4 separate regions of the Homo sapiens genome follow, and all the other regions are linked to region 2. The links are contacts of gene promoters, found by promoter capture Hi-C in blood cells and fetal thymus (Javierre and others, 2016). All regions are on one chromosome and are shown on one strand. Each heading gives the region's core, a stretch centred on a gene start or on the middle of the fragment in contact. The rest is flanking DNA. Distances are from core to core; before and after follow the strand shown. Region 1 overlaps TMA16 (translation machinery associated 16 homolog). Region 2 holds the start of TRIM61 (tripartite motif containing 61). Region 3 has its middle 9.5 kb from the start of TMA16. Region 4 holds the start of NAF1 (nuclear assembly factor 1 ribonucleoprotein).

Region 1 (2,700 bases), core at 66-2,565, 1.5 Mb after region 2:
TCTCTTCTCTTTCCTGTCAACAGTTACTCCTTAGGTGAACTGATCCTATCCAGTCTCACGGCTTGAAATCCCACATGGATGCTGATCGCTCCCAAATTTGTGTCAATACCCCTAACCTATTCTCTGAACACTAGACTCAACATATCTAACTATCCATTCCATATCTCCTCTTACATGTCTCATGGGCACTTTAACCTACATGCCTTATATACAGACCTCACATTTTTCAACTCTCTGTTCAAATGTAACTTCTTCAGAGAAGGCTTCCATGACTATCCCACGTAAAACAACTTCTCCCTCACTGTCCATCCCATAACTTTTTAAATTTTTCATGGCACTCATCACCTACTGCTACATAAATTACTTATCTGTTTTAGGTAAGCTCTAAAAGAGTAGAGTCCTTGTTCAGTTTCACCCTCTGCATACAGAACACACTTAATAAATATTTATGAAAGGGAGACAATACTGTGAAAGGATATATGTTTGAAAGATAAAAGTATAAAGGGGCTTTTTACCAACGAGTAATACAAATGATGAAAAGATACTTACTTTTCCTTTTTTTCTTGTTTGTGGGCCTCTCTCGTAATTTGAGCTGCTTTTCTACTATATGGATGGATGACTTTTTTTTCCCGTCCTGCACTTTTTCCCTTTGGTGCTTTGGGCTAAAATGTATGAAAACACATGACACATATAGTCAGATATGTAAGTGCCTTCAGTCCCAAAAATATTCTTTACAAATAAATTTTAAAAACAGTAATATGACAGAAATACAGTAAGCTAAAACTATTACAAGAAAAATCAGGAGATAAGCCAGGATCATTAAATAATTCTAATAATCTGTTGCCATGGTAATGACAGAAACGATATATTCAGAGGTGCTCTCCAATGACAGAAGAAAGGCACAGAAGGAGTCAATAAACTCAGCTCTTCAACAACATGTTCTATCTTCAAAGAAGATACAGGGACTACAGATAGTGAGGAGACTCACAGCCAGAAATTTGTTACAGTTAAGAAAATTAAGGGGTCAGAAGGGACTTGGATTATTAGTAGGGGCTTGATTGTAGATGTTTCACATGGAACAAAGCGGGCAATGAATCATGCAAAATCAAAGCTGGGCTCATTGCCTGTACAAATTAGGAATAGAGAAAATAATAGAAGCCATCTCAAAATTAGTATATCCAAAAGGAAAAATGTATCATTTTCCCACTGAAGCCTTATGCCAGTTAATCAGCCCACAATTCATTAGGTCCTCCAAACTAGACATCTCAGGTTTCTTTTATTCCTACATAATCCTGTATCTTACCTCACCTATAATGATCTAGGAATCATATTTGGCTCTCTGTAATAAAAACCCCAAATAATGGCATAACCCAGCTTAAGTTTGGTTCTTTATTGTTAAAAGTAGGAGCTGAAGGTTCTGTTCCACAAAGCCCTTAGGGATCCAGGATCCTTCCATTTTTTTGTCTACTAGCCTCAGGCTATACCTCCTATCTAGTTCAAGACAGCCTAATACCAGGTCTACACTCAAGCCAGTATGAAGTAGGAAAAGAAAAATCTGAAGGTACATCCCCTTTTTTTAAGAGCATGACCTGGGAAGTTGCAGATCCTTTTGCTCACATCCCACTGACCAAAATTTATTCACAGTGTTACATAAGGGAGAGTAGTAAATATAATCCTTATTCTGTGAGAAAAAGATCCATTCATATAGAAAAACAGAAAGAATACATTAGGGGACAGCTGGCAGTCTCCAACATACCTATTCCAGAAAAAGGCCAAGTGGCTTTACACTCTTCTTCAAAATTATTGTCAATTGCTTAATTCAATCCTCAGAATCTTTCATAATCAGGATAGTCTTTAGATTCTCCCCACTAGTCCTTTCTTCGGCAAAGCTACAGAGCTTGTCTTCATAAAACACTAATATAGTAAAGTCCCTCTCCCCTGCTTAAAGTGCTCTACTAGCTCACAGTTAGGTCCCAAGTCTTTAGCACAGAAACAATCTAGCCCCAACCTGCTTCTCCACCATTATTTCCCATGCTCCTCTATAAAAGATTCTTCACGCCATTCTTACTGAACTTCTCACCATTCCAGAACATACCAAGCTATTTCATAACTTCTTGAGACTGCACTTGTTATTACCTCTGCCTGCAAAATACTTTACTTGCCCTTTGATAAGATGCAGTTCAAAATTACTTCCTTTGTAAAACTAGGCAGAACTATTTAAAATAACCACAAATTCCTCATTCACAAATATATTCATTCTTTCAACACTCATTGAGCGCTCTGCTCGCTTTCTGATAAACCTGAGAAGATATATCCACATCTGAATCTTAAGGTATCACTGGAAGTTGGTTACAGGTATAGGAAAATATGTAGAACCATCATATAAGAGTATATGTACTCTTTTATGTATCTCTCTGCTCACATGGCAAGTGCAGAGGAGAAAGGCAGGTGTAATGAGGAATTTTTGAGATTAAAGTACCTAGCAAACATGAATCAAGTAAAAACTTTCAGGACATTTGGCAGGCTGCCTCTAAGATGGACCCAATAAACCCCACCTCCTGATCCTCATGCCCTTATGGAATCCCCTCCTTTTGAATGTGGGCTGGACCTACCGACTCACTTTTAATGAAGAGCATTTAGCAAAAGCAATGAAATGCCAATTCTGAGATTAGGTTATCAAAGAAGTCTGGCTTCCATCTT
Region 2 (2,700 bases), core at 57-2,556:
GGAGGCCGAGGCGGGCGGATCACGAGGTCAGGAAATCGACACCATCCTGGCTAACACGGTGAAACCCCGTCTCCACTAAAAATACAAAAAATTAGCTGGGCGTGGTGGCAGGCACCTGTAGTCCCAGCTACTCTGGAGGCTGAGGCAGGAGAATGGCGTGAACCCGGGAGGCGGAGCTTGCAGTGAGCCGAGATCACGCAACTGCACTCCAGCCTGGGCCACAGAGCGAGACTCCGTCTCAAAAAAAAAATAAAAATAAAAATAAAATTATCATTTCTGGCTGGGTGAGGTGGCTCACGCCTGTAATCCTGGCACTTTTGGGAGGCCGAGGCGGGCGGATTGCCTGATCTCAGGAGTTCGAATCCAGCCTGGGCAACACGATGAAACCCCGTCTCTACTAAAAATACAACAACAAAAAATTAGCCAGGCGTGGCGGCGTGCGCCTATAGACCCAGCTACTCGGGAGACAGAGGCAGGAGAATTGCTTGAAACTGGGAGGCAGAGGTTGCAGAGAGCCAAGATCGCGCCACTGCACTCCAGCCTGGGCGAAAGAGAGATTCCGTCTCTTATTAAAAGAAAAAAAAATCATTTCTAAAATATTTTGTAGACGCAGGGTCTGGCAATGTTACCTAGGCTTGTCCTGAACTCCTGGCCTCAAGCGATCCTCCCACCTCTGCCTCTGAAAGTGCTTGGATTACAGGTGTGAGCCACTATGCCCGGCCTGTACTAAATTCTTTAAAGTTGAGAGGCTCCACATTGGCTCTTCTTCCAGCCTTGAAGACTTTGACCGTGGAATTGATCCAACGAATGCCTCTTCATCCCTCAAATTCCGCCTGAAATGTCACTTCCTCAGGTAAACCTGAGTTCATAGGGTAGGGCACAATCCCACAGGGTGGGAGAGATCCACCCACTCACCCACTGAGATGCAAACTAATCCAAAGGGGCTTCTATTCCTCTTTCAAGCATAGGGAGTGCTCAACGACTCCACCCTGCGACCCCAGGCTACGGGAAGCAGTTGACCCTGCAAAGCTCTCCACTCCCTCACCATCTGGGAGGGGACGCTGTGCTGGTGAAGCTTTTAAAACCAACTTGCAGACTTACTTGGACCCTCAAGTTTACTCATATACATAAAAAGTGATAAGAATCCGAAAAGACAGCCAGGGGAATTAAATGCCAGTTGGGGCCAACGGGGCCCTGATCACGGAAGAGGGCGCCCCCAGCTCTCAATCTTCACACAATCCCTGCACCCAGGGTCACAGAGCATGCGCAGGTCCTTCCCGCCCACTTCCGGGGCAACTGCCAACCACCGCGCAGGCTGAGCCCCAGGCAGGAAGCAGCCCACTTGGTGGGGTTGGGGTATGAGTCCTTCCTCGCGGGGGCTCGGTGGGTCCTGAGTATTCTTTGGCCGGATTTGCTGATCCGTCTGCTCCAGGTGAGCTGGGAAGGCCGCAGGAAAGGCCCAGAAGGGCCTCGCCAGGAGGCTTAACTGGACAGGGGCTTCTTGAACATTCTCTGTGCCTAAACCTCCGGGTCGCTGCCTGCCCACGACTGGATCTCCTTAGTGTCTGGCGTAGCTCTTGTGAAAAATTCAGGATTGTAGAGTTAGAATGGGGGTGTTGAGCCTGTATCAATTAAGCTTTAAATGTTATGATCTGAATTAGGGTTTATGAAGTGGCTATGTTATCTTCAAAGAGTTAATGTACGTGTTTGGGAGTGGGGGTTGGGGAGTTAAGGGAGCGAAGTGGTAGCTGCCAGTTGAGAACCCACCAGCCTACGTCGTCTGCACCCTCGACCTATGTAAGCATCCTGTAATCCTCACAAGGGTCTTACAGGTACGAATTATCATTTCAACTTTGTAGATGAGGCGCTTTAGGTGCAGGCATGTTAAGAATCAGCCAGTATGATGATGGTTGAAACTGAGAGCTTGGAATCTACCACAGGTTTTATTTATTCCTCAAACAAGCTAGAGACGTATTGCCACCAAGAAGCTTGCTGCCTGGTGAGGGGTTTTTACAGTTAGGTAAAGAATTGCAGAGTAGCTGTAAAATCACATAACTGTGATATGTGACATGATGGGAGCTAGGCAAAAAACTTGGACTAGATCTTAATGGATCTTTTTGCTTTGTTTTCCTTAAAGCATAGGTTCACAAAGTACAGTCCGCAGGCCAGCAGCATCATCTGGGAACTTAGGAAAAAACCAGCCCTACTGAGTCAGAAACTGGGGATGTGGCCCAGGCAATCTTTTACCAAGACCTCCAGGTGATTATAATGCAAGGTAAGATTTGAGAATTGCTTCCATAAAGTAATAAAGGACCAGTGGAATGTTTTCAGTTGAAATATGAAAGGATTCTGTTTGTATTTGAAAAGGTCAGTTTAGCTACAGACTTCAGAAATTGGAGGCACCATTGTGTATCTAGGAGAGAGACATAAGTGGTTTAAACTAGGGTGGTGACTGTGCCTACAGAGCTGTTCTGTTCACTTAATGTCCTGATTTTAAATAGTAGAGAAGACTGCTTTGGGTGTATGCTTGGGGAAAGGAGGGCACAATGATACCTGGAGTGAGTCCTCTTGTGTCCTTTATGAAGGGGTGGCCTGCCCCTCCACACCTGTGGGTATTTCTAGTCGGGTGGGACGAGAGACTGAGAAAAGAAATAAGACAGAGACAAAGTATAGAGAAACAACAGTGGGCCCAGGGGACCG
Region 3 (2,700 bases), core at 127-2,626, 1.5 Mb after region 2:
GGACCTGGTGGGAGGTGATTGGATCGTGGGGGCAGTTTCCCCTATGTTGCTCTTGTGATAGTGAGGGAATTCTCATAAGACATGGTTATTTGATAAGTGTCTGTCATTTCCTATGCTTGCTGTCTCTCTCTCCTGCCACCATGTCAGATGTGCCTTGCTTCCCTTCACCTTCTGCCATGATCATAAATTTCCTGAGGCTTCTTCAGCCATGCGGAAGTGTGAGTCAATTAAACTTCTTTTGTTTATAAATTACCCAGTTTCCGGTAGTATCTTTATAGCAGTGTGAAAATGGACTAATATAGGTACCTAGTTTCTTTGAACCTGTAGCATCACATTAATTTACTGATGAAATCAGCTATACTGCTCTGTGTTGTCTATTAGGGAAGTGCTCAAAGACACATTCTCAACTGAATCCTTTTTTGAGAATTTGAGGAAAGCAGAAGGGTTAAGTTTCAGAGGAGAGAGCTCCAGGGACCAATAACCTCTGCTGACAGGAGTTGGAGGCCTGAACATTCCAGGGTACAATTCATCCTAGTCCTATTTCTATCAGCTCCTTATTAGCCTGGCCTTGTGCTCCTCTGGTAGTGCTTCACAACACTGGGAGGGCAGCAAAGCTTCCCAGGTGAAGTACGGGAGACAAGAGCTAAGATTATATATGACCTCCCCAGAGCCTCCCAAGCTTCCAGGGACATCCTCCTCCCCATGTGACTGCTGTGCTCTTCGGCTGCCTCCCTCCCTTCTAGTCACTAGTTCCCTTCTTCCCAGGGGTTTCTCACAGTCTTCATTTACTTCCAACAGCCAATTTCTTCCTGTTTCTGTAGTTTTCAAGGTTGATTTTGGAGACAGCTGTGCTAATTTATCATTTTTCTTATTTCTAGGAGTCCTGATTATACTTATAAAATTAGACTTTTGTCATATATAAATTAGTAATTTTTCTTTTGACCTGTTTGTGACTCTTCTTTTCTTTTTGGCTTGGGAAAAATCATAAAGTGCCTTTCAATAAGGAGCTAGTTGTTACAAAAATGAGTTAAAATGGCCCCTGGCCCTGTGTTGTTTACTTCTTCACAGCAGCCTGGGACTTCTTAACTCAAAAGCCGGCTACGGCCAAACTTAAATTTCTACACATCCAGTTGTTTTAAAATATAGCCCCCAAAAGCAGATTGTTAGCCATTTACAGCCTGCCTGCTTTGCACATCCTGAGAAACTGCACCCAACATCTGCTAACCATAGGTCCCATAGATTAGATAAACGCTGGGGCCACTGCTTCTCTCAGAGTTCTTTGCCCAGAGACTCCCACCATGCTGCTGAGTGACACCACCTAGACACATAACCCCCTCTAAATACTCTCCCTCAGATCTTCCTCTATGTCCCTTCTGGAAAGTCGCCTGTGCACCCTTGCCTTTGGAAGGTATCATGCTGTCACTGAGAAACTGCCCCTGTCCTCACCCCAACCCCCACCCTCACCCCCAGGCAAATCTGTCAATCTCTGCCCAAATAAACTGTGTGCTAGTGCCATCTGGTGGTCGTCCAAATCCCCTTTGTAACATATTTAACTCCTTACACAAGTTAAATTTGTTACAAAGAATTATCTGCCGCTGTTTTAAAGAAATGAGTTAGATTGATATGTACCTGTGTGGAAAAATGCTCTAAAATTGTTAGGTAGAAAAAAATGAGTTATAAAACAATGTGCAAAATAAATCCCATTTACAATAAAATGTGGAATGAAGACATATATATGCCCATTCATGCATAGAAAATATGTGGATGGAGTTACAATATGCTGTTTGTAATTTACGAGATTAGGATTGAGGTAGGGCGCTCAGGAAAGGACCTTTCATTGTATTCTTCTACAGTGTTTGAATTTTTCAAAACAGTGTATTTTTTAGCTTTTTTCCAATTAAAATGAGGAGGACTGGGGAAAGCTGAATTTAATGAGTACAGTGGCAATAATGCACCAATAAAGTGGTGCATTAGAGATATGCTGATGCAAACCAAAATATACAAGTTGATAATTGAGATTAGGCTGCAAGTGTTATTTCTCTTTTAAGAACAATGTTAATGAAAGGAAGCTTTGAAGTCGAAAGAAGGAAATTTTGGTTATTCTTGTTAAGATCATTTTATTAAATTTTGTTTTAGGATGCCTTGTCTTAACCACATCTACGTAGTAGCAGAATCAATAAAAACTGAGTTTGATAATGTTTTTGTTCTCTCATTGTCATATTTATAAGGCGTTATAAGTCACATATCTTTATGAATATATGAATATGTGATAGATTTTCCTAAAATGTATTGAGTTTTTTAGAGCAATGAATACTTTAGGTGAATCTTCATTGTTGTAGGTTGAATTGTGCCTCCCCCACCTCTCCCACTAAATTAATATGTTGAAGTCCTAACCCCCAGTACCTCAGAATGTGACCTTATTTGGGTCACAAAGAGCCTTACAGGGTCACTGTAGATATAATTACTTGAGGTCCTACTACAGAAGTGTAGGCCACTAATCCAATATGACTGGTGTCCTTATGAAAAGAAATTTGGACTCAGACATGTACACAGGGAGACTCCATGTAAATGTTGTGGTTATGCCGCTACAAGCCAAGTGTTATGGATTGAATTGTGTCCCCCCAAAAGATACATTGAAGTCCTAACCACTAGTATCTTAGAATGTGACCCTATCTGGAGATCTTTACAGAGGTAGTTTTA
Region 4 (2,700 bases), core at 51-2,550, 1.8 Mb after region 2:
AGTCCTTCTTCACTTTGGAGGATTTCCATGAAATAGCCTACCAATCCTACTTCCCATTTCTGCTGCACTTGGATTTTCTATTTCATATTTCAAATATTTTTCTAGTTATCTCCTGTGCATTGCCCTTCTCTACTTCAAGTAGATTGTAAGCTTCTTAAAACCTTACTCTTATTACACTTGCCTTGCATTTCTATGAAGATCTACTGTTGTAGATGACACACTAAATTCTCAGTGAATAATTTATAAAATCTTTAGCACAGTCCTTGGCACATATGCATGTTTAACAAATGGTATCAATGATTATTATTACTACACAGGGACTGATGCCTCAAACTGAAGACCTAATAGGAAACCAGAAAATTCTGATCTCTTCCTCAGTCCTAAGAACTCTGCTTGCTTTCTCCACAATTTAGACTAGTGGTTTCCAACAATAAGTGAGTACATTTCAGTCTCATAGTCTCATCTCTCTACTACGAAACAGTGCTAAGTATGATATAGACATCACCATAACATGAACAACACAGCAAAATTTTGTCCATTACTGCTCTCTTTGAGGGTACTTTGGAGAAAGGAAAATGGAATAGTTGTAGTTACATTTTTGAAAAAATGGTTAATACCCTATCTATCGACAGATGGATCTATTGATGGATAAACTTCATTTAACTTTCATGAAGTTACTAGCGTCTTGTCAAGACTTCCTGGCTCAAGTTTCTGATGTACAGAACTTAGCATTCTTCAGGCACCCCCCTGTTGTATAATCCCTGCTTCATTTTGGCGCTTCAAGCAGAATTGGTTCACATGCAGCAATAGGAAAATCCGACATTCAGGCCTTGAATGGTTCACATGACGCAGTGAAAACGGTCGATTTAGGGCCTCCCTAGTCCTGATTATTTTTTTTTGAGACGGAGTCTCGCTTTCTCGCCAGGCTGGAGTGCAGTGGCGCGGTCTCGGCTCACTCCAACTTCCGCCTGCTGGGTTCAAGCGATTCTCCTGCCTCAGCCTCCCAAGTAGTGGGAATTACAGGCACGCGCCACCATGCCCAGCTAATTTTTGTATTTTTAGTAGAGATGGGGTTTCACCATGTTGGGCAGGCTGGTCTGTGAACTCCTGACCTTGTGATCCGCCCACCTCGGTCTCCCAAAGTGCTGGGATTACGAGCGTGAGCCACGGCGCCCGACCCCCTAATCCTGATTTTCGAAGATATGACGCATGTATCCTGCCCCCGCGAGCGCCGTCGCGCCGTCGCGCCACATACGTCACACGCTCTTCGGAAAGCGTTGCTGCGTAAATGGCGGGGGCGTGTCTTTTGGCTCCTCCGCGTGTAGTTACCTGAGAAACGCGGGAAGTTGGGCCCAGGCAGTGTTGCTGCGGTTGCCTAAGTTGTTTTTCTATTTCTGGAGAGAGCCGTGAGCTTGTCCAGGGGCCCCAATCCTGAGGCCGACCCGGTTTCTGGCGCGGTGCGATGGAGGTAGTGGAGGCCGCCGCCGCTCAGCTGGAAACTCTGAAATTCAATGGCACCGACTTTGGAGTTGGGGAAGGTCCGGCGGCTCCGTCTCCGGGCTCTGCCCCTGTGCCAGGGACACAGCCGCCGCTACAGTCGTTTGAGGGGTCCCCGGACGCTGGGCAGACCGTGGAGGTTAAGCCTGCCGGGGAGCAGCCTCTGCAGCCCGTTCTGAACGCCGTCGCGGCCGGGACCCCGGCGCCGCAGCCACAGCCACCGGCTGAATCGCCGGCCTGCGGAGACTGCGTCACCTCCCCAGGAGCCGCAGAGCCTGCGCGGGCGCCGGACTCCTTGGAGACCTCGGACTCGGATTCGGACTCGGACAGGTCGGGTGCCTAAGGGACCCGGAGCTGTGGGGAGAGGTCTTGTATGACGGGCGGGGGTGGCTGGGGCCTAGGAGCCTAGAGGTTGCTTGTGTGGGCCCTGGAGGGTGGGCAGGTCGTTGGTGCTCCGGGCTCACGTGTTGAAGTATTGGCTCCGACTGCCCCTTATTCGCTGCCTCTCAAAGCAGGTCGCGTTGTGAATCTGAGCTTAGTACTGACTTATTTCCTAAATTTGGTGGCCTGAAGGGTTCTATGTATAGATCGTATCATTTTTTGTTAGACTTTAGAAAACCCGAGGATCTTAGGTTATTTCCGTAACTACTCAGTTTAGGCTGTACTTTTGTGGTTATAGTTGAGTTTTGTGTCAGATCTGATTTTTTTTTATCATCACATCTAGGCTTTGTTTTTTGAACCACATACATTGGGGATCAGGAAAAGTATTATTTTTTGTGTTTCAAAGCTGGCTCTTGATGATTACGTTAATTTATAGAATCCTTGCAGGGAACACGTGTTTATGAAAGTAGCCAAACAGTGTTATTTAGTAGTATCTTATGCTTCTTACGTTTTGTGAGAGCCTTTCCCCCTTGCCCCCACACCTGTCTTTTAAATATGAAATCTCTGGGCTGGAGAGGACTCCAGCATGTGGGATGTTACTAAACCACACTGAACATTGTCTACAAATAGTTGAGTGTGTTGAGTGGGGTACTGAACAGGTTAACAAGATAGACACGTGTTGAGGAGGTGAGAAGTTTAGTTTTCAGGGAAGTCATCAGCGGAGAGTGGAAGTGAAGAAGGCTGAAGGATTTGAGTAGAAGGAGAGGGTATGAAATGTACTGGGAGGGGGAAGTAACAACTGTAAACAAGGTTGGATTTCTT

Evidence for each region. The method cuts DNA at HindIII sites, captures the fragments that hold promoters and counts their contacts. A CHiCAGO score of 5 or more calls a contact.
Region 1: a fragment that was not itself captured here is called in contact with the fragment with the promoter of TRIM61 in region 2 in 1 of 17 cell types (naive CD8 T cells); the score reaches 6.3 in naive CD8 T cells.
Region 3: a contact is called between a fragment that was not itself captured here and the fragment with the promoter of TRIM61 in region 2, in 2 of 17 cell types (naive CD8 T cells and naive B cells). The highest score is 6.4, in naive CD8 T cells.
Region 4: a contact is called between the fragment with the promoter of NAF1 here and the fragment with the promoter of TRIM61 in region 2, in 7 of 17 cell types (non-activated CD4 T cells, naive CD8 T cells, fetal thymus and 4 more). The highest score is 19.2, in non-activated CD4 T cells.

Annotation. Positions count from the first base shown.
Region 1 is chr4:163,504,995-163,507,694 of GRCh38, reverse strand. TMA16 (translation machinery associated 16 homolog) reads right to left here. Exons shown (of 7, transcript NM_018352.3): 2 at 550-662. Among named protein-coding and RNA genes, the nearest start is that of TMA16, 12 kb to the right of the region's middle. The HindIII fragment of the contact is 3,133 bases long and covers 1-2,700 here.
Region 2 is chr4:164,976,263-164,978,962 of GRCh38, reverse strand. It overlaps TRIM61 (tripartite motif containing 61), which reads left to right and starts at 1,306. Exons shown (of 3, transcript NM_001414904.1): 1 at 1,306-1,432; 2 at 2,138-2,275. RefSeq lists enhancers at 1,028-1,087, 1,118-1,197. The HindIII fragment of the contact is 561 bases long and covers 1,078-1,638 here.
Region 3 is chr4:163,483,817-163,486,516 of GRCh38, reverse strand. No RefSeq gene overlaps it. Among named protein-coding and RNA genes, the nearest start is that of TMA16, 9.5 kb to the left of the region's middle. The HindIII fragment of the contact is 1,390 bases long and covers 682-2,071 here.
Region 4 is chr4:163,165,490-163,168,189 of GRCh38, reverse strand. It overlaps NAF1 (nuclear assembly factor 1 ribonucleoprotein), which reads left to right and starts at 1,300. Exons shown (of 8, transcript NM_138386.3): 1 at 1,300-1,827. The coding sequence starts at 1,463. RefSeq lists enhancers at 1,347-1,546, 1,567-1,686, 1,717-1,796, 1,288-2,155. The HindIII fragment of the contact is 3,845 bases long and covers 153-2,700 here.